6 separate regions of the Homo sapiens genome follow, and regions 1, 2, 3, 5 and 6 are each linked to region 4. Evidence: promoter capture Hi-C in 16 types of primary human blood cells and fetal thymus (Javierre and others, 2016). All regions are on one chromosome and are shown on one strand. The core of a region is centred on a gene start or on the middle of the fragment in contact, and the rest is flanking DNA. Distances in the headings are between cores, read along the strand shown.

Region 1 (2,700 bases), core at 54-2,553, 6.0 Mb after region 4:
ATTCTATTAAGTCAACTTTTACTGTGGAATCATATTTTTCAAGCTTTCTTTGCCGTTATTGAGTCCAAGCATATAAGGATCATGATGTCATTATTTCCTAAACATATTCTTACAATTTGAATGTGGAACTACATATATCTGTGCAATTTTAGCAGCCTCATCAAGATGCTGAATTTTTAAGAAATCTTCTCAGTTTTGGTGCTGGAAAGTACATCAGCTCCCTTTGAAGCAATTATATAATTTTAAAAATTTAATATGTTCTCCTAAAACATTGTAAAGATATTGATCCCAATATGTAAACACAATTACAGAAATTCGTGGGAGGTGAATATTTACATTTGAGACTGCAACAAGTCATAAAACAATTCTCACCCATGCCCCTCCCCCACTCGAAGTTTTCTCTGTGAAGTTAAAAATGGATGGATGTTTTCACTATGTAGTCTATTAATACATTGTTAACTAATTTATGAAATACGAAATAAAATTAATTTGGTAATAATACAACTCAATGCTTTCATATTCTAAATTCTTTGATATGTTTTTTCTTTCCAACAGAAATCAGTGAAGAAACCAATGACATTTCCATAAAGCACTGGCTTACCAACACAATTGTACAGTTTAATGAAAATGTTTTCTTCCCTTTATAATAACCTTAGATAGCTATTTAAATATAATGGTGATTTTTTTAACCCAGCAGAGTTCAACTCTCAGATAAAAGTAAATCAGGAGGCAAAACCTGTATGTTAAAAAAGAATTTTAAAGAACCAGTTTCCCACAAAAAGTTAATGTCTTAACCCAATGAATATTTATTGTCACATTGACATAGCTAATTTCTTATTCATACTTTTTTTTTTGCAGATGAAATTCTTATCTTTCCTAATTTGCCAGACAATACAATGTTCCTGGGGAGATTGACTTGGGTGCTCAACTTCATGTTGGGAGAACTGGACTGTTCTTAGGTGGACTAGTCATGGCATCTCTGGTTCTTCTGTGTAAATGGAAGGTGTGTGGAGTCTCCAGGACTACAGATGCATTGTGTTCTGAACTGGCCAGGGATGAAACATGCATCTCTCTTTAGCTGTTCAGCTTGATTATTAAGACACTATGGAAATGTTTATATGATCACTTTCGTTCCCAGAGTTCATGACTGCCTAAATTGATGGGTGTGCCAAGTTGTAACTTAGTTATAACTAAGATGTAACAATGCCAAATTGTAACTTAGCATCCTAAAAGAGGAGCAAGGCAGTACAGGGGTACCCCCTTACCATTAAGGATTGCTTTATTATAATGATTGATAAAATGGCATATATTTATTGCTGAAACTCTAGTATTTAGAATAGTCCCTTGTATACAGTAGACATTCTTCTTTCCTTCCTTCCTTTCTTCCTTCCTTCCCTCCCTCCCTCCCTCCCTCCCTCCCTCCTTTCTTTCTTTCTTTCTTTTCTTTCTTTCTTTCTTTCTTTCTTTCTTTCTTTCTTTCTTTCTTTCTTTCTTTCTTTCTTTCTTTCTTTTTCTTTCTCTCTTTCTTATTAGATGGAGTCTCGCTCTGTCACCAGGGTGGAGTGCAGTGGCGCCATCTCAGCTCACTGCAAGCTCCGCCTCCCAGGTTCATGCCATTCTCCTGCCTCAGCCTCCCGAGTAACTGGGACTACAGGCTCCCACCACCACACCCAGCTAATTTTTTTGTATTTTTAGTAGAGACGGAGTTTTACCGTGTTAGCCAGGATGGTCTCCATCTCCTGACCTCGAGAGCCACCCTCCTCGGCCTCCCAAAGTGCTGGGATTACAGGCGTAAGCCACCATGACTGGCCTACAGTAGACATTCTTTTATCAACACTAATTAACACTACAACACAACTTCACGAAAGGACAAAACAGTCTCTGTGTTTTTCTCCTATCTTTTCACCACTAGCATGGCATCCGGCACAAAGATGCCACTCAATAAATTCAAACTGAATGAATGAGTGAATGAATGAATAAGTTTTTGGGTACTTGCTGGACACAAACCTATGTATAAAGTCATTTTCAGAAGGCCTGCTGTAATTACGGGCAGGGGCTAGGAAATGGGGTGGGAATCCTAAATTAAAATAATAGATCAAGTAGAAAATGTCTATGGGGAAACAGAAAAAGAATGAAAATACAAGACCATTTTATAGAAGTCTTGATTACTTAGTTAAATGCTATTTTAAGCCTTCAAAAAAGCAAATTTGGAAATCTTATTTTCATCATTCATCCATTCTCTAACGCCTGGCAACACAATTCAATACGTCATGTGTTTTCAACGCTTATTCCAGACACTTTCAGAAATAAATTCAATTAGTCTATCAATCAAGTAATCAATGCTTACTAAACACCAACCCTCTACCTAATCCTAGTTAGGTTCTGGGATGAAAGAGGTAATTTCTTTTTCAAATCAGTATAATCTAGGGACTTTAAGAAGTATATCTCAATTGCGACATGGGGAATTTACCTCAATCTCTCAAACTTAAATTTACACAGAAATGTAACCAGATGAATGGTTACAAAAGTCAACACCATTATCATATCAAATAGCTCTGATTTATAAGCTTTTTCATAAACACTATTTCTGATTTGATGTTGACTAAAATACTGTGAGAAATTTTATGATGTCCATTTTCACAGGTAAATGTAGCATCAGGGAACTTCAGTAATTTGGCCCAAAGTAACGCATATAGTAAG
Region 2 (2,869 bases), core at 133-2,632, 6.0 Mb after region 4:
TCCCAAGAGTAGCTAGGACATCGGCAATCTTCCTTTCTCTCTGCTGTTTCCTCTGAGAATTGTTTCACAAGGTCCAACATCCTCTTCTGTAGCATAGCTGAACAACAGATACTCAGCTCTGCAAGGCTGATTTCCTTTGTGAATAGTTAACATTTTTTTGATAGCCTTATTTTTAAGAAACATGTTAGCCCTTCTCTTGTTCTTCAGAGATAACTCAAAATAATATCATTTGGTTTTTTCATTTGTTCATAAGCCAAAGCTACAGCTGCCTTGTCCTTTTAAAGTCAGAGCTACAAAATTCATTTGAGTTCCAGAGATAAATCAGACTTGTCCATTGCTATTACTTAATAAGCCAAAGTAATTGAACATTTAACAAGAGTTTGCCCAAAGGCTGAGTCAGATTATATACAGGACACCGTCTATATTATCAGTGTATAAACAGCAAATAAGTTTTTAGTGTATGTTCACGTCCTGTGCAATATTTGGGACATACTTACACTAAAAAAGTTTATTTGGAAATCAACTTTAACTAGATATCCTGTTTATTTGCCAACATGCCACAATTCAGGTCACCATTTATCTACCAAACAGAATCAATAACCTGTTCGTCCAATGTGGCCTCAAGTGGGTTTTGGCGCAGAAGCACTCCTCCTGGACCACAGGTGTGGTCCTGGTTGCAAAGTTTTGATGTGACATCAACACTACACAAAAGTAAATGTAACTGCAAAATTTTGAAATTCACAGATGGGTCTTTGAAGTCCAGCTCAAAAGCGTGGAGGGCTGGTTAAAATAAGTCACAGACTTGCCGGTTTGGGGTTTCTAGAAAGAAAAGTAACTTGAGGAGTTGAAGGCTTGTAGAAGACCTTTCCACAGAGAGTGGGAATTCCGTTGCAGCAGCCAAGGCTTCTTCGGGATTTAGAAGGAGAGCGCGCGAGAACCTGAGGGAGCCAGTAAGAGTCGAGCAGGGACTGGAGGGCTCCCGATGGGGTGTAGCCAATCAGGGCAGAGATGGGTGGGGCTAGGCTGCGGGAAGGGGCGGACTGCAGCTGAGTTGGCTCCAAAGTGTGGGACTCAGCCAATCGGAACCGTGCAGGGCGGGGCTGGCCTGCGGAAGGGGGCGGGTTCGGAGGAGTGAACTGTGCGGTTAGTGCGCCTTTCAGCCTCACCTGCAGCTGCGCCTCCTTGCACCTGCGCCTGTGCTTTTTCTCCCAGCACTGCGGACGCGACTCGAGGGTGACGCTCGCTCCGCTCGTCCCGCTCGTCATGGCCTACCCGGGATACGGAGGAGGGGTGAGTCCCAGCCGCTTGGTCGTGTCCCTCTTCCTCGCGGGGTGTGGCGCCCCCGGGGGCGGTGCCAACGTGCGGGTCCGCCCTTGGCTCCTGCTCCCTGCGTCCGCGCCTGGTACTCGGCGGCGCCGGATTCCGGGGCTGTTGGGGGCCAGGGCCTGGGCGAGCATTGATCCTGGGCTGACTTGGAGCCGCAGGTTTTCTGGTCGTTGAGGACCCTCGAGGAGCGTCCTGGTGGAGCCGAGGGAGTAATGTGTGTTTGGAAATTTATTTCCTGGAATGGAGGAACAAGCCACCCTCTTCTTGTTCCAGTAATCGTTTGTGGTACTTCCCTCCCCCGCCCCCCACTCAGTGTTGCTAGAGATCCTCTTTTTGAATTTCCTGACCACTTCTTGTTCTTTAAGTTCCTTATGAATAAATTAAGGTGTACGGTAAATAACTCCTAATCTTTACTGTTATACGAAGGGCAATCTGTTCTAGACTCCCCCGCTCGCCCCCAGGCGGGGGGAAGTTACTCTTTGTTATAACTTTTATCCTGCATCACCTTTGGGAGTTGCAAGTTATAATCGTAGAGTCCTGGTGGCTAGCCCCTTCTTTTCAGAAAGGAGCCCAAACCTTTAGTATCGATGTCAGTGATCTACACGCTGTGTTAACAGAGTTAACAGTAGTTTGATCCATTGCGGTGTGGGTAGAATATAATATATTTTCTATTTGTTTTTTACCTAAAAAGAGAAATTGTGTTTTACTGATTTTAATATAGGACTTGACTTTGGGCTATGGTTGTGGTCTTCAAAAGAGTTACTCCTACCCCTTGGAGTTCATGGTGGTGGTGGTGGTGGTGGTGGTGGTGGTGGTGGTGGTGGTTGTGGTTGTGGTTGTTGTTGTTGTTTTAGGATATGAATTTCCAGGTCCTCAACTTCCACACATACTTGTTCCTAAAATTGATTTGCTTTCCTTAAGACTTGCCTCAATCCCCTCTGGCACCGTCCACTTTGTAATGCCTATGCCTCCTCAGTCCTTAAATTTAGGAAGGAAGTTTAAGGTACCTAAGGAAAGTAAAGCCCCTTCGAAGATTAATCAAGATAGCATAAACCTGTGGGTCTTTAAAAACGTCCCTAGCGTATACGTATTTTCATTTGGTTGAAGCTATCTGTTAGAAGTTTGTATATTTACTCCTCTTGGTATGCTCTGAATTCATATATGTATGGTAGAGTGAGGTGGCAAGAGTAATACATTTTCATTCAAATAATTTGGTGCTTCCTTACCCACTTTTGTCAGAGTGCTTGAATTTGATGGAGAGTTCCACGACACAATAAAGAGAACGTCTGTATGTGTTTTGAATATTTAAATCCCCTTTTCCATGAATTTAAAATAAACAACTCTTTTCAGCTGTTGTCATGCTCATTATTAATCGCCGGAAAGAGAAGTACCCTCAATAGCTGAAGCAATATATAGATTAGAGGCACTGATTTTAAAAAATGTAATTGAAATATTTTAAGATACATTGGATAAAATTTTGGGATAAAACTTACATGATTTCTTTAGTAGGAGAATATTAATAAGATAGTTGAGACGTTTATAA
Region 3 (2,700 bases), core at 143-2,642, 6.8 Mb before region 4:
TTAATTTCTCTCCTTTGAAAGTACCACATACTTCTTTTACAGCATTCTCTTTCTGTGCAGGTTATGGGCAGGCAAAAATTCACCATAGAACTTGGCCAAGACTAGTAATCTATTCTTATGACTTGTCTCTATAGTCACACTTTAGACTTAATATACCATGTTCAATTACAGAAATAGCATCCTGGCTAAATGCTGCCATATAAATCTTCCTAGCACACAGCTCTAAGTGAATAATCACAATTTAAAGAATGAAGTCTAAATTACTGAGTTCGGCATTCAAGGCTCTCATTTACTTGGTACCAACCTCACAATTCAACCTTATCTCCCACTTATCTCTTTCATGCAGCTTACATTCAGGTTGGCAGGCAGCAGTCACTTTTCAGTTTTTCAAAGGGGTAGGCGGGTTGGGGAGTTCTTTGAATATACCTTCCTGTCCTTCCCGCTCATATTTTAGACTATACAAATCCCACCTATCTTTCAAACCTCAAGTTAAATGTTTCCCTCATGAAGTGATCCCAAACTCCTCTCCACAAAGACTTGAATCTGCATTGCACCTTCGTGTAGGTTCTAAAAAAAATTATTACTTTATACTTTAATTGTAGCTGTTTTTATATATGTCTTATGACCGCTACATATGAATTCTATAGATAGGATGTGTCTAATCACTGCAAAGTTACAGTCAATAAATATCTCTGGTGTGTGAGAGTATCTCCTATTCTTATTTTGTAGGATTTAGAAGGTCACTTCCAATATGGAAACTGTTTTAAAAAAAAGAAAAAAAGATTAAAAAAACCCTTCAGTTTAGCTAACCCAAAAGCTAAAAAAGGGCCTAAACATAGATTCTAATATTTACTGAAACGCTGTATTTAAAAAATACCGAAAGGGTGCTTGAATTTCCACATCTGTACAAATGAAATTGTATAAATAAGTGTATTTGCAGTGCAAAGAATGCTACCATCTTCAAAGCATAACATAATTTCACACCACTTGCTTCCCTTGACATTTTTGATACATTATATCTAACACTATACCACCCAATGCCATCATAATTAAACCCGTTCTTTCATTCCTAACATTCCCAAACGAGTTTACTATGCTGATTCTTAAGAGATAATTTACTCACATTGGCCATCTCCGCTGGAGAAGATAGTTCGCAAAATAGCTTTCCTTTGGTAAAGTTATTTCTGGGAAAGAACACAACAAAACAGACGAGTGATCGATTAAACTCTAACAACAGACAACTGAGGTAACGTCCACTCTTCGAAGGTGTGTCGTCCACCACGTCAGGACCAAAGTCCAAGCTCTCCCCGTACCCTAAGGAGGCCAGAACTCGCCCCCATGCCAGGCACAGATCCCCCAGCCCGGAGCCGGCAGTGCAGCTCAGAGCCCTTCCGGTTTACAGCCGCGGAAAAACAACTCGGACCAGATCCGGGAGGGGAATGGGGGCTGGGTGGCCAAAATTCAGTCCAGAGGATCGAAGCGGCTGCTTTAACAGAAGTTGGGGCTGCGTAACAACAGCTCCAAGCAAAGCTTCAGGCTGATCGGAAAGATGAGGAAGCAGAAAAGAGACTAAAGACAGACGGACAGGATGGCTGGGGACAACGACAGGGACCCAGTGAAAATACGGGCAATACCGAGGGCTGTAACCCTAACACGGGCAAATTTGGAGGGGCTAACATGGGCGGAAACCATCCGTACCAGTCACCACCACTGTCTCCAGCTGTCCCAGAACCGGACTCTTCCTGCCATCAAAATGGCGGCGGCGACGGCAGCGGTGGTAGCACCTACGCTGGCGGTGAGCAGGCAAAGGAAGTTGCTTCCGAGCGCGTCGAAACGATGATGCGCACGCGCAAAGTAGGCCTACGTGGAGCCGACCTGCCATTGGGTAAACGCAAGGGAGGAGAAAAGGTGGGGCAGGGGTGATTTGGGTGGATGGATAGGAGGGCTTCCGACCTGCGTTAGGCGGGTCAGTTAATCTTCAGTAACTCCTTGATGCGTTTGATAGTCCTCCCAACTTAAGCCTTCCTTACTGCCTCCAGGAGATACAGTCTTCTGTTCTTTTTGTCATAGTTGTTTATTTTTCATGAATCGCTGTTTTTGAGCATAGGGCACTTACCTCTTTCTGTGTCCCCAGCCCTACCACAGTGCCAGGCTCTCAATATGCTCGATAAATATTAGGCGATTGATTTGTAAATCGTGTATCATTTTCATGTATCTAATACTTTTTTAAAAATTGATTAAAGCCCATAAGCCCATATTTTATTCCAGATGTCCTTAGTTTTCGACCTGGTATTCTTTTCCATTCCAGGATCCTGTCCGGAGTACATCACCATGTCTTCCAGGCTCCTCTGGACCGTGACCGTTTCTCAAACTTTCCTTGTTTTTGATAACCTTAATAGTTTTGAAGCGACTTATTGGTCATTTGGTCAAATGTCCTTCAATTGGGTTTTGCCTGTATTTTTCTCATGCATTAACTGAGGTTATGGGTTTTTCTTGAGTTAAGAGGTAAGGTAAAGTGATCTTCTCATCACATCACATCAAGGGTATATACTATCAACATGACTTATTACTGTTGATGCTAACCTTTATCACCATTATTACAGTGTCATACAGAAAAGTTTTATAGTTCTACAAAGATCCCCTTTGTTTCATCTAGTAAGCCCTTCCACCTCCCTATGTAGGGTTTGTCAGGTTTCTCCA
Region 4 (2,839 bases), core at 223-2,722:
TATTTCTGAGAACTGTCTTCTGTAATTTCCAAAGTGTAGGAATGGTTGAAGTTTGAAAATAAATGGAGAATTTCAAATAGTTAATGAATAGATTTAGGAGCTATACTGAAACAACTAGCAGAAAATACATTTTCTGGAGTTCTTTAATTTTGTACGCTTAAAAGTATGGTGTTCCTAAAGATGGCTAATTCTTGTTGAAGTAAGTAGCTCTGGAAGTCATATTTTCCATTTCTCCATACTTCATCTATTAATCAGTTGACTGGCAATTTCCGACACCAGTTTTGCTAAACTTTATAAATTTTGCTTCCTCCAGAGGTAGGAGGGGGAAGGAGATGGGCAATACAGAAACAGATTTTACAGCCAGAATATGACAGGGCCCCTTAAACTACAAATAGATGTAGAATTTTAAATGTAGCTCTGTAGTTCAATTTATACCACAGAAATTGCGAGATGCTATCTTCCTGTTGTTATAACGTATCAGGTCAAGGGATATAAATTGTACCAGGTAATTCATTTTGCTGTTCAGAGAGTCATTAAGTTCCTCCCAGAATATATGTGATTGATATCCCTGGAGGTGAAAGGCTAAAGGAACCATATGGCAACATGTTGCATTCCGTATGCTATCTGCCCATCCGTGCTTAAGCTGTCATTAGCAACATCTGTACCTTACGGAAATCCAGCTGCGCCGACGACGGCTGACGGAATTGTACTTGGGGGGAAAATCTAGCTTAGCGCCATTAACTTGAGACTTAGAGTCTATCTACCAGGACGGATGGAAGCTTTCACAATTAGACGAGACGACACGAATGCTTTATTAAAGTTTAATTTTGAACTCCCAATTAGCGAAAGTGCATTACAAATCGATTGCAATTTCCTAGAAGGTGCAGCAAGTTCTCTGCCTGCCTGCCACGTGCGAGACGCTCCACAGCGAGCTTCCCCAGCTCCGGGCAGCAGAAAGGGGATGGTTCAGAGCCGATCTCCGCATCCCAGGAAGTCCCTAAAATCCGCGCCAGCCCCTCCTCCCGCAGGGCGGGGGCGTCCACGGCGCGAACCCGCCAGAGGTGTAGGGGGAAGTGTGGGGGGCTGGTCCGCAGCCTTCGAGGGGTGGGGCGACAGGAGCGAGCGGCCGGGGGAGGAGAAAAAGGCGGGCGGCGGGAGAGGGGGCCTCTATTATCTCGGCTTCTCGGGAGGAGCCTCATCTAGTCAGTCACGCAGAAGTTTCTCTTTCGCTCTTCGCGCTACACACCCAGATTGGCTTCCAGCGCGCAGGCGAGTGGGGCGAAGGAGGGGGGACAGGAGTCCCGGAAGGGCCGTCCGGCGTTCACACCCACCCCTGTTCCGCTCCTCCCGCCCCAAACAAAGTCCCCCGACTCTAGGTCCAGGATACGTTACCTGCCCGGCGCTCCCGGCCCCTCGGTCACCGCATCCCCCGCTGGGCGCGCCTGGTACGGGTCCCGCTCCCCGGGGCTCACAAAGTGGTCGCCCCTGGCTGGGCGGCTGGGTAGATGCCCCTCTCTGGACATGTTGGGGCGGTTTTTGGGGTGGAGGGAACGCGGGAAGTGAAAGCGGAGGCTGGGACAAGGGGAACTTACTGATAAAATGGAAAAAAAAAAAGCCCACAGGGCCCAGGTCCTGGCCGGGGGCGAAAGAGGCCTGTTACCTTTCGGGGGGTCGCGGCCGACCAAGAAGGGAGCCGGGGAGTCGCCCGCCCCCCTCCCCCGGCCCCCGGCCCCCGGCCCCCGGCGGCTGCGGCAGCTGCACACAGAAGCCCATTGTCGCCGGCGTCCGGCGCGCAGCCCCGCGGACTCGGCCCCGCGGCCAAGCGCGTCAGCGGCCCCGTCAGCCGGGCCGGGCTCCGTGACGCGCGCGCAGCCCGCGCTATAAATAACCTGCCGCCGGGCGGCTCGGGCGGCTTTCCAGTGACGCTGGGGCGGAGGCGCGGTAGGAGGAGGGCGAAAGGAAACAATAAAACCGCCCGGCAGCCTCCCAAGTCTCCCTCCTCCCTTCCCAGGCCGCCCGCGGCCCTTCGCGTCGAGCTCCTTTTTCCCCGCCCCGGCCCGCCCTGCGGGGAGCGCGGTTCGCGGGTGGGAAGGAGCCCGGCGTGCTGGCGTCCCCGAGTGCTGCCGGGGCCCCGGGGCGGGAGGGGGTTTTTCCCGCACCCTGGGATGGCGAGGAGGGAACTTGGCGACAAGTTTAGTGAGGGGATCGCTGTGTTCCTTTCTAGTCCAGTTAAAATGACCCGAGCTTTTCCCGCTCCCTCACACACCTATTCTAGTACAGGTCGGATGTGTTTTTGGGGTAGTAAGTCCTCAACCGAAAACAAAAGCGAAAAACCTGTCGTCTTCAACGTAAGCATTATCTAGGTTTTTGTGGGGCCAGGCTTGCATTAGTGTTTTCATTCGGGGGGTTGTATTATAGAAAGGGTGCCCCGTAGTAGCAGCGTGAGGAAGGGTTCCAGGACCCAGGCTGTCAGCTCCGGTGCATTTACAGGTCTTTTTGCCGTAGAATTTAGCATAGGCCTGAAACATGGCATAAATGAACTTTCTAAAAGTCTATAATCTCAACGTTAAAGAGCTTACTTTTTAACTCTGGACTTTAATAAAGGCTCCCACTTTAAAAGGGGCTTTCTCTATAGGAAAGTATTAATATTTTTGTGGAGACTCTCACTGCTACCTTCCATACTCAGGCAATTCTGTCACACACCCTGACACTTGTCCTACTCATTAAGGTACCCACATACAACTGGAGGTAATCTGTTTTCTTGGACCAACAATTAATAGACTATAAAACTGTATTTCGTCTTGAGCAAAATGTCTCAGCTATGAACATGTTTTCTGAG
Region 5 (2,933 bases), core at 39-2,538, 7.7 Mb before region 4:
CCACAACATGGTCATTTAAGGCGTGTGGGCCTGCCCTTAATTGGGCATTTAGAAGAGCTGCACTTCAGGCAATTGTAATAGTGCACAATTTTGAGCTCTCAGCAGGACAGTTTATCAGGAGACAGTTGAGAGAAAAAGAATCTTCAGGCAGGATTGCCTGGGGGCCGTAGGGTCCATTCATACTCCCAGATCTGTATGGGGTGGGGCTCATGGCTTCAGACATCCAGCTCCATTCTAACCTCTGCAGAATTGGTTGTGCTGGATTGCGTATAATGCCGTCAGTGTATATGGAGGGTCACTATAAGAAACAGCCCTTAGATGCCCCTTTTGTATCTATTGTAAGATTACTGTTGAAATATCTGTTATATCACCTAGTTGCTCTATTTATAAAGACTCTTGGACATTGCAATGAGTACCAGGAACAACTGTAACTCTCCTGAGCAGTCATTTTATCTAATGGATATTGTGAGCTGTGAAGCTGACAAAGTTTCCTAATTTCGTGTTACTAGGAAATTTAGAACCCAAATGCTATCCTAGCATATTTTAGCAACTCTTAAAAGCCACTTGAAATCCTTTCTGAAACAAGGTGAGAGGTATGGGTGAGTCAGTAAATTTCTAAGTAATTAGTGTGTTTTATTTCAGTGGTCTCTGTTTCTTTCCCTGCCAAAGTCACCTTTAATAGCTGAGGAAAGACAAGTAAATCTGTCTTCTAATTTGGAGAAAACAAAGTGGCTTTCCTTTCTACCTCCTAACAAGTCACTGTGGAATTTAAGGGGCTCTCAGTATGCTACTATCAGAACCTTTTTCTTAGGAAACAGGTTATTTTGTTCTAGGGGACAACAAAAGATCAGATCAGTAAGGCATGGCTGTTAATAAATCAATTCACCGATTTTCTTCAATTCAGGATTCCAGCTGCATACGCCATTCACAAATCTGTGGTTATAAACATTTAATCTTTTGTTGGTGGTAGAGATTTAAAAAAATAGGTGAGAGGAACCATGTTTAGACGAGCAACCCAAGTTTCCTAACAATGGACTCCTCTTAGCTAACACTTGGACCCCAGTGAGCTTGGTGCTCTGAGCCTGCTTGTTGTCTGAGATGGGCCAGCAAAGTCAGTGAGACTGAACTGCCTTCACAGGGATTGAAACAACCTTCCAAGTTACCTTTCAGAGGTGCCTCAGGAGAACAGGATGCACCAATGGAGACAGAAACTGTGAAGAATATACATTTCAGGAGCCCTAAACCAACAGTGGGTGTGCATCTGTAGCCCCCAAAGCCCCAGGATCTCCACTCCAACACCCTTATGAAAATAATATGAATCATCCAGCTAGTTCCATGAATGTAATAGTGTCTTCAGCTGAATGACAGCTGTGCTGAATTTAGAGTGGGTTTCCTCCAAGTGTGGAATTTCTCAAGGGCAAGGTAGCTGGATTGGAAAGGATCCTATTTTTTAACCTCCCGTGGCCTTGCTCCAACAATTGTATTTCTGTTCCAAACTCGGTCATTTTTAAAACCTCACTATCATCCAATTTTATTAAAATAAGTACTTATTTTTAAAAATAATTATTTTACTTATTTTATTAAAACAAGTAGGCTCATATTCATCAGCTCAATGGAACCTAGTGCCTCTCAAAAATCCAAAGTCCAGGCCAGGTACGGTGGCTCACTCCTGTAATCCCAGCACTTTGGGAGGCTGAGGCAGGCAGATCATGAGGTCAGGAGTTCAAGACCAGCCTGACCAACATGGCAAAACCCTGTCTCTACTAAAAATACAAAAATTAGCCAGGCGTGGTGGCATGTGCCTGTAATCTCAGCTACTCAGGAGGCTGAGGCAGGAGAATTGCTTGAACCCAGGAAGCAGAGGTTGCAGTGAGCCAAGATTGCACCACTGCACTCCAGCCTGGGTGACAGAGACTCCATCTCAAAAAAAAAAAAAAAAAAAAGAAAGAAAAAAAAAATCCTGAAATTACATCTACATAGCTTGCTTGCTGTTTGGACACACATAACTGTCCAAGTCAGATTTGTTAGCTTCATCACAAGAGCTTTACTTATTTCTCTTATCCCCATCCAAAAGCCTGAGTGAGCAGCGTCAATCTATTCCAAATGTGGAGCACTGGTTGTGTTTTACGGTCCGGGTGGGGCAACAAATGAGACAGGCTGTCAGTGCAATTCAAAATTGGGTGTTGTGGACCCTCTGGAGCTGTGTGTTTTCAAATCTGTTTCTTTTTTTTTTAGTTACCAAAATGCAGAGCTTTCAGGCTGATTATTTTGGAGTCTATTTGGATCCTTTGTGGAGCTGGGAAGTAAATCGTCAGCTTATACACAAGGTGGCACCCTGTGATTCCAACCAGGTCTGAGAGGAGCGATGCTGCTAAGAAACTGAGCCACAGTCACAAATTTTTATTTACCATCTGCTATTCCCACGGTGGCAAATGCAGAGGTAGAAGTAGATGTTTGGCAGGTCACCTCTCAGTGTAGTCTCTGTCCCTATGTCTCAAAGATGCAGAGCTGCCTCAGAAAAGGGCACTGGAACCACAGAACTGATTCCAGTTGATTGTAATGAATGCAGACCCCACATTCAGATTACATATGGAAAACAACGAAGCTTTATTAGTACTAGGCTCATTCCTGGGAACATAAGGGGGAGGGGTGGAGATGCAGTTCACATACTAACCCAATTAACTTTCAAATGGTTTTGCTGAAACCAGGAGCCAATTAGAAAGAACGTGACATTTGCAAAACTCTGAAATAGTTGAATAGCAACTGTGTTTACTAGTTTTAAGATTCCTTTCAAAAAGTAATTTGTCCATTATTTGGAAGCTGCCTGCCTTGATTATAGTACTGGGAGATGGACACTGGAATGTAATCCTAATTCTAACAGTTATTTGACATTTATTCTAATTTAGACTACATTTAGACAGTGATTTTATTTT
Region 6 (2,700 bases), core at 33-2,532, 5.1 Mb before region 4:
CTGAAGATGGAGGAAGGGCTGCTGAGCCAAATAAGGTAGGTGGCCTCCGGAAGATGGAAAGAGGATTCACCCCAAGAGCTTCCAGAAAGGAAGGCAACCCTGCCAACACTTTGATTTTAACCCAGTGAGACCTCAGTAGGACTGCTACAGAATCCTAAGATAGTAAATTGTGTATGTGAGTGTGTGTGTGTGTGTGTGTGTGCGCGCGCGCGCGCGTTCCTATGTGTTTAAGCCACTAAAGCCATGTAATTTGTTATGGCAGCGAATTAAAAAAACTGATACAAATCAACATCACCGTATTTCCGTAATACAATCATATAACTGCGGTGCCAGGCCGTGTAGAATCGAATCTTCCTATATGCATGCGTGGCAGCAAAAAGAAAGGCAATAGAACGTCTGCCTGTTGTACAGACTGGAAACACAGTATTCTCCTTCGGATGTCTCCTTCAAGAAAAACCTTGCCTATTCTGACACGCCAGCCATGACTGCACAACACTGCCCCTACCAAGAATCGTTTTCTTAAGAAATCCGTTTTCCTAAGGACTATCTCCAGAGACACTCGGAGAAAACAGCGAGGGCCGGGCGCGGTGGCTCACGCCTGTAATCCCAGCACTTTGGGAGGCCGAGGCGTGCGGATCACGAGGTCAGGAGATCGTATCCATCCTGGTTAACACGGTGAAACCCCGTCTCTACTAAAAATACAAAAAAAAAAATTAGCCAGGCGTGGTGGCGGGCGCCTGTAGTCCCAGCTACTCTACTCGGGAGGCTGAGGCTGGAGAATGGCGTGAACCCGGGAGGCGGAGCTTGCAGTGAGCCGAGATCGCGCCACTGCACTCCAGCCTGAGCGACAGAGCGAGACTCCGTCTCAAAAAAAAAAAAAAAAAAAAAAAAGAGAGAAAACAGCGAGGAAACACAAATAACTTTATGTTTCAATTTCCTCAATGAAGCAAAGCAAACAAGTGACAAGGCTCGAAGCCCTGACGGCCCAGAGACTGCACAGCGGGCCCAGGAGCAGGTGCGCCCCCTCGAAGGCGGCGTGGCCTCCGCGACTCGGCTGCGGGCAGCTCCCGGGGAGCAGGGTCTCAACTCCGGCGCTGTCCCACTTCCGTCGGCGCTGAGGGCTCCCACCTCCCTTTCCACCCCCGGCTCTCCAGCCCGGGACTGCCAGCGGCGGGAGTGGCAGCCGGGGAAGGGACTCCCCACTCACCCGCGTCCGCCCGCCGAGCGCAGCTCCCCAAGGCCCAGCGCGCCTGCCCTTCCCGGAAAACAGCAGCGCCTGAAACGCCGGAACCCCGGGAGGCACTGGGAGGGGAAGGCCCGGGTTCTCGAAACTGTCGCTGCCTCCTGCAGAAGCGCCGCGGGAGAGCTGCGGGGTCTTCCTGAGGAGGTGGCCCTCGCAGGAACAGCTGGGTTCCCCGCGAAAAGAAAAAGACAGTGAAAAAGAAAACTGCTTTAACGGCGATTTTTCTTTAGCATTTAACCAATGCTCAAATACTAAACATGGTTGTCTCCAATGATTAGTCACTAACAGAAAAAAAAACTAATTTCACTTTCGATTTTTAAAAAGGGGTGGTTTTGCGGAGGAAAGCAGAAGTATACCTGAAGTTTCCGTACACACTAATTTTAGGGAACGCTTTCTAAAACCAGTTTTTTGCATGTATTTTATAAGGTATGTTGGAAAAGTGGATAGAAACCAAATAAAGTCAAAGCAGGAATCGCTCTTCATCAGATTGTAACTCTTTTGTAATTTCTTAGTCATTGTAACACTAGTTGACAAATGTTTACAGTCAGCACAAGATCGGCGTTTCTGTGTCTTTTGTAACATCCCCCGGGGCCATGAAGTTGGGAAAGCTGTGGTGTTCCTGTTGGTTTCTGTGACCCATGTCCCTTGAAAGTTTTCTTATAATCTCTTGTTTTGTTGTGGAGCTTGTAAATAAATACTTCACTAGGTGTGAACTTTTCCTTTGAAAATTCAAACATCTGGTTTATTTCAAGAACTGCAGTGTCTCTTAATCCCACACAAAGAACCACCCCACAGCTGCCCCGGCTCATAAATACAGATGTGGGAAGAAAATGAGTCAAAATTATTTCAAGGCATAAATTATAGGTTATCATGCTACCTAGTCACATATAATAACTGATACAGTGGTCTAAAATAGTTTAACAAAAGTAAAATTTCTTTGTATCAAAAAGGTTGATGGGAACCAGTTTAAAGTGGTGACATTTCTCTTTTTTTTTTTTTTTTTTGAGATGAGTCTTGCTCTGTTGCCCAGTCTCCAACTCCTGAGCTCAAGCAGTCCTTCCACCTCCACTCCCAAGTAGCTGGGATTACAGGAATTCACGACCGCACCCAGATTTTTTGTACTTTTAATTTGGGTGCTGGGGGCAGGTATCTAACTGTTTCCCAGGCTGATCTTGAGCTCTGGCCCAAGTGATCCCACCACCTCAGCCTCCTGTAAAATGGCATTTCTAAGTAAAAAAAACGACTTCTTTGTGCTTATCAGACCAGTTAGAAAATACAAAAACTCCTTCTGCTGCAACTTGAGAAAGAATTACTTTAGTTTTACCTTGAAATTTTAGAGGGAATATGAACTCTCGAGGTTATTTAGTTGAACCTCATTTCTTCTTATTTTTATTTTTTACAAGAAGATACTAAAGGACAGGACCATGGCCAGAACAGGACTAACTTAATATATTGAC

The links. The method cuts DNA at HindIII sites, captures the fragments that hold promoters and counts their contacts. A CHiCAGO score of 5 or more calls a contact.
Region 1: a contact is called between a fragment that was not itself captured here and the fragment with the promoter of FLJ46875 in region 4, in 2 of 17 cell types (non-activated CD4 T cells and total CD4 T cells). The highest score is 13.4, in non-activated CD4 T cells.
Region 2: a contact is called between a fragment that was not itself captured here and the fragment with the promoter of FLJ46875 in region 4, in 1 of 17 cell types (total CD4 T cells). The highest score is 7.8, in total CD4 T cells.
Region 3: the fragment with the promoter of MMADHC-DT here is called in contact with the fragment with the promoter of FLJ46875 in region 4 in 1 of 17 cell types (naive CD4 T cells); the score reaches 5.8 in naive CD4 T cells.
Region 5: a fragment that was not itself captured here is called in contact with the fragment with the promoter of FLJ46875 in region 4 in 1 of 17 cell types (non-activated CD4 T cells); the score reaches 6.8 in non-activated CD4 T cells.
Region 6: a contact is called between the fragment with the promoter of NMI here and the fragment with the promoter of FLJ46875 in region 4, in 4 of 17 cell types (non-activated CD4 T cells, total CD8 T cells, total CD4 T cells and 1 more). The highest score is 13.7, in non-activated CD4 T cells.

Annotation. Positions count from the first base shown.
Region 1 is chr2:162,312,977-162,315,676 of GRCh38, forward strand. All of the region lies in intron 1 of IFIH1 (interferon induced with helicase C domain 1), which reads right to left. Among named protein-coding and RNA genes, the nearest start is that of IFIH1, 4.4 kb to the right of the region's middle. The HindIII fragment of the contact is 2,524 bases long and covers 42-2,565 here.
Region 2 is chr2:162,342,986-162,345,854 of GRCh38, forward strand. GCA (grancalcin) reads left to right here and starts at 1,147. Exons shown (of 8, transcript NM_012198.5): 1 at 1,147-1,290. The coding sequence starts at 1,264. RefSeq lists enhancers at 704-933, 786-955 and silencers at 984-1,133, 1,374-1,453. The HindIII fragment of the contact is 3,657 bases long and covers 1-2,869 here.
Region 3 is chr2:149,585,966-149,588,665 of GRCh38, forward strand. It overlaps MMADHC-DT (MMADHC divergent transcript), which reads left to right and starts at 1,393. Exons shown (of 3, transcript NR_110240.1): 1 at 1,393-1,885. MMADHC (metabolism of cobalamin associated D) reads right to left here and starts at 1,810. Exons shown (of 8, transcript NM_015702.3): 1 at 1,699-1,810; 2 at 1,124-1,184. The coding sequence starts at 1,132. RefSeq lists enhancers at 1,021-2,220, 1,537-1,856. The HindIII fragment of the contact is 5,571 bases long and covers 1-1,528 here.
Region 4 is chr2:156,340,648-156,343,486 of GRCh38, forward strand. It overlaps FLJ46875 (a long non-coding RNA gene), which reads right to left and starts at 1,473. Exons shown (of 1, transcript NR_147695.1): 1 at 1-1,473. RefSeq lists enhancers at 378-933, 934-1,487, 2,695-2,754 and silencers at 1,035-1,134, 1,675-2,284. The HindIII fragment of the contact is 3,407 bases long and covers 778-2,839 here.
Region 5 is chr2:148,638,641-148,641,573 of GRCh38, forward strand. No RefSeq gene overlaps it. Among named protein-coding and RNA genes, the nearest start is that of EPC2, 4.6 kb to the right of the region's middle. The HindIII fragment of the contact is 2,630 bases long and covers 1-2,603 here.
Region 6 is chr2:151,288,386-151,291,085 of GRCh38, forward strand. NMI (N-myc and STAT interactor) reads right to left here and starts at 1,283. Exons shown (of 8, transcript NM_004688.3): 1 at 1,208-1,283. RefSeq lists enhancers at 1, 802-851, 872-921, 1,312-1,391, 1,452-1,871 and a silencer at 1,052-1,251. The HindIII fragment of the contact is 4,870 bases long and covers 1-2,700 here.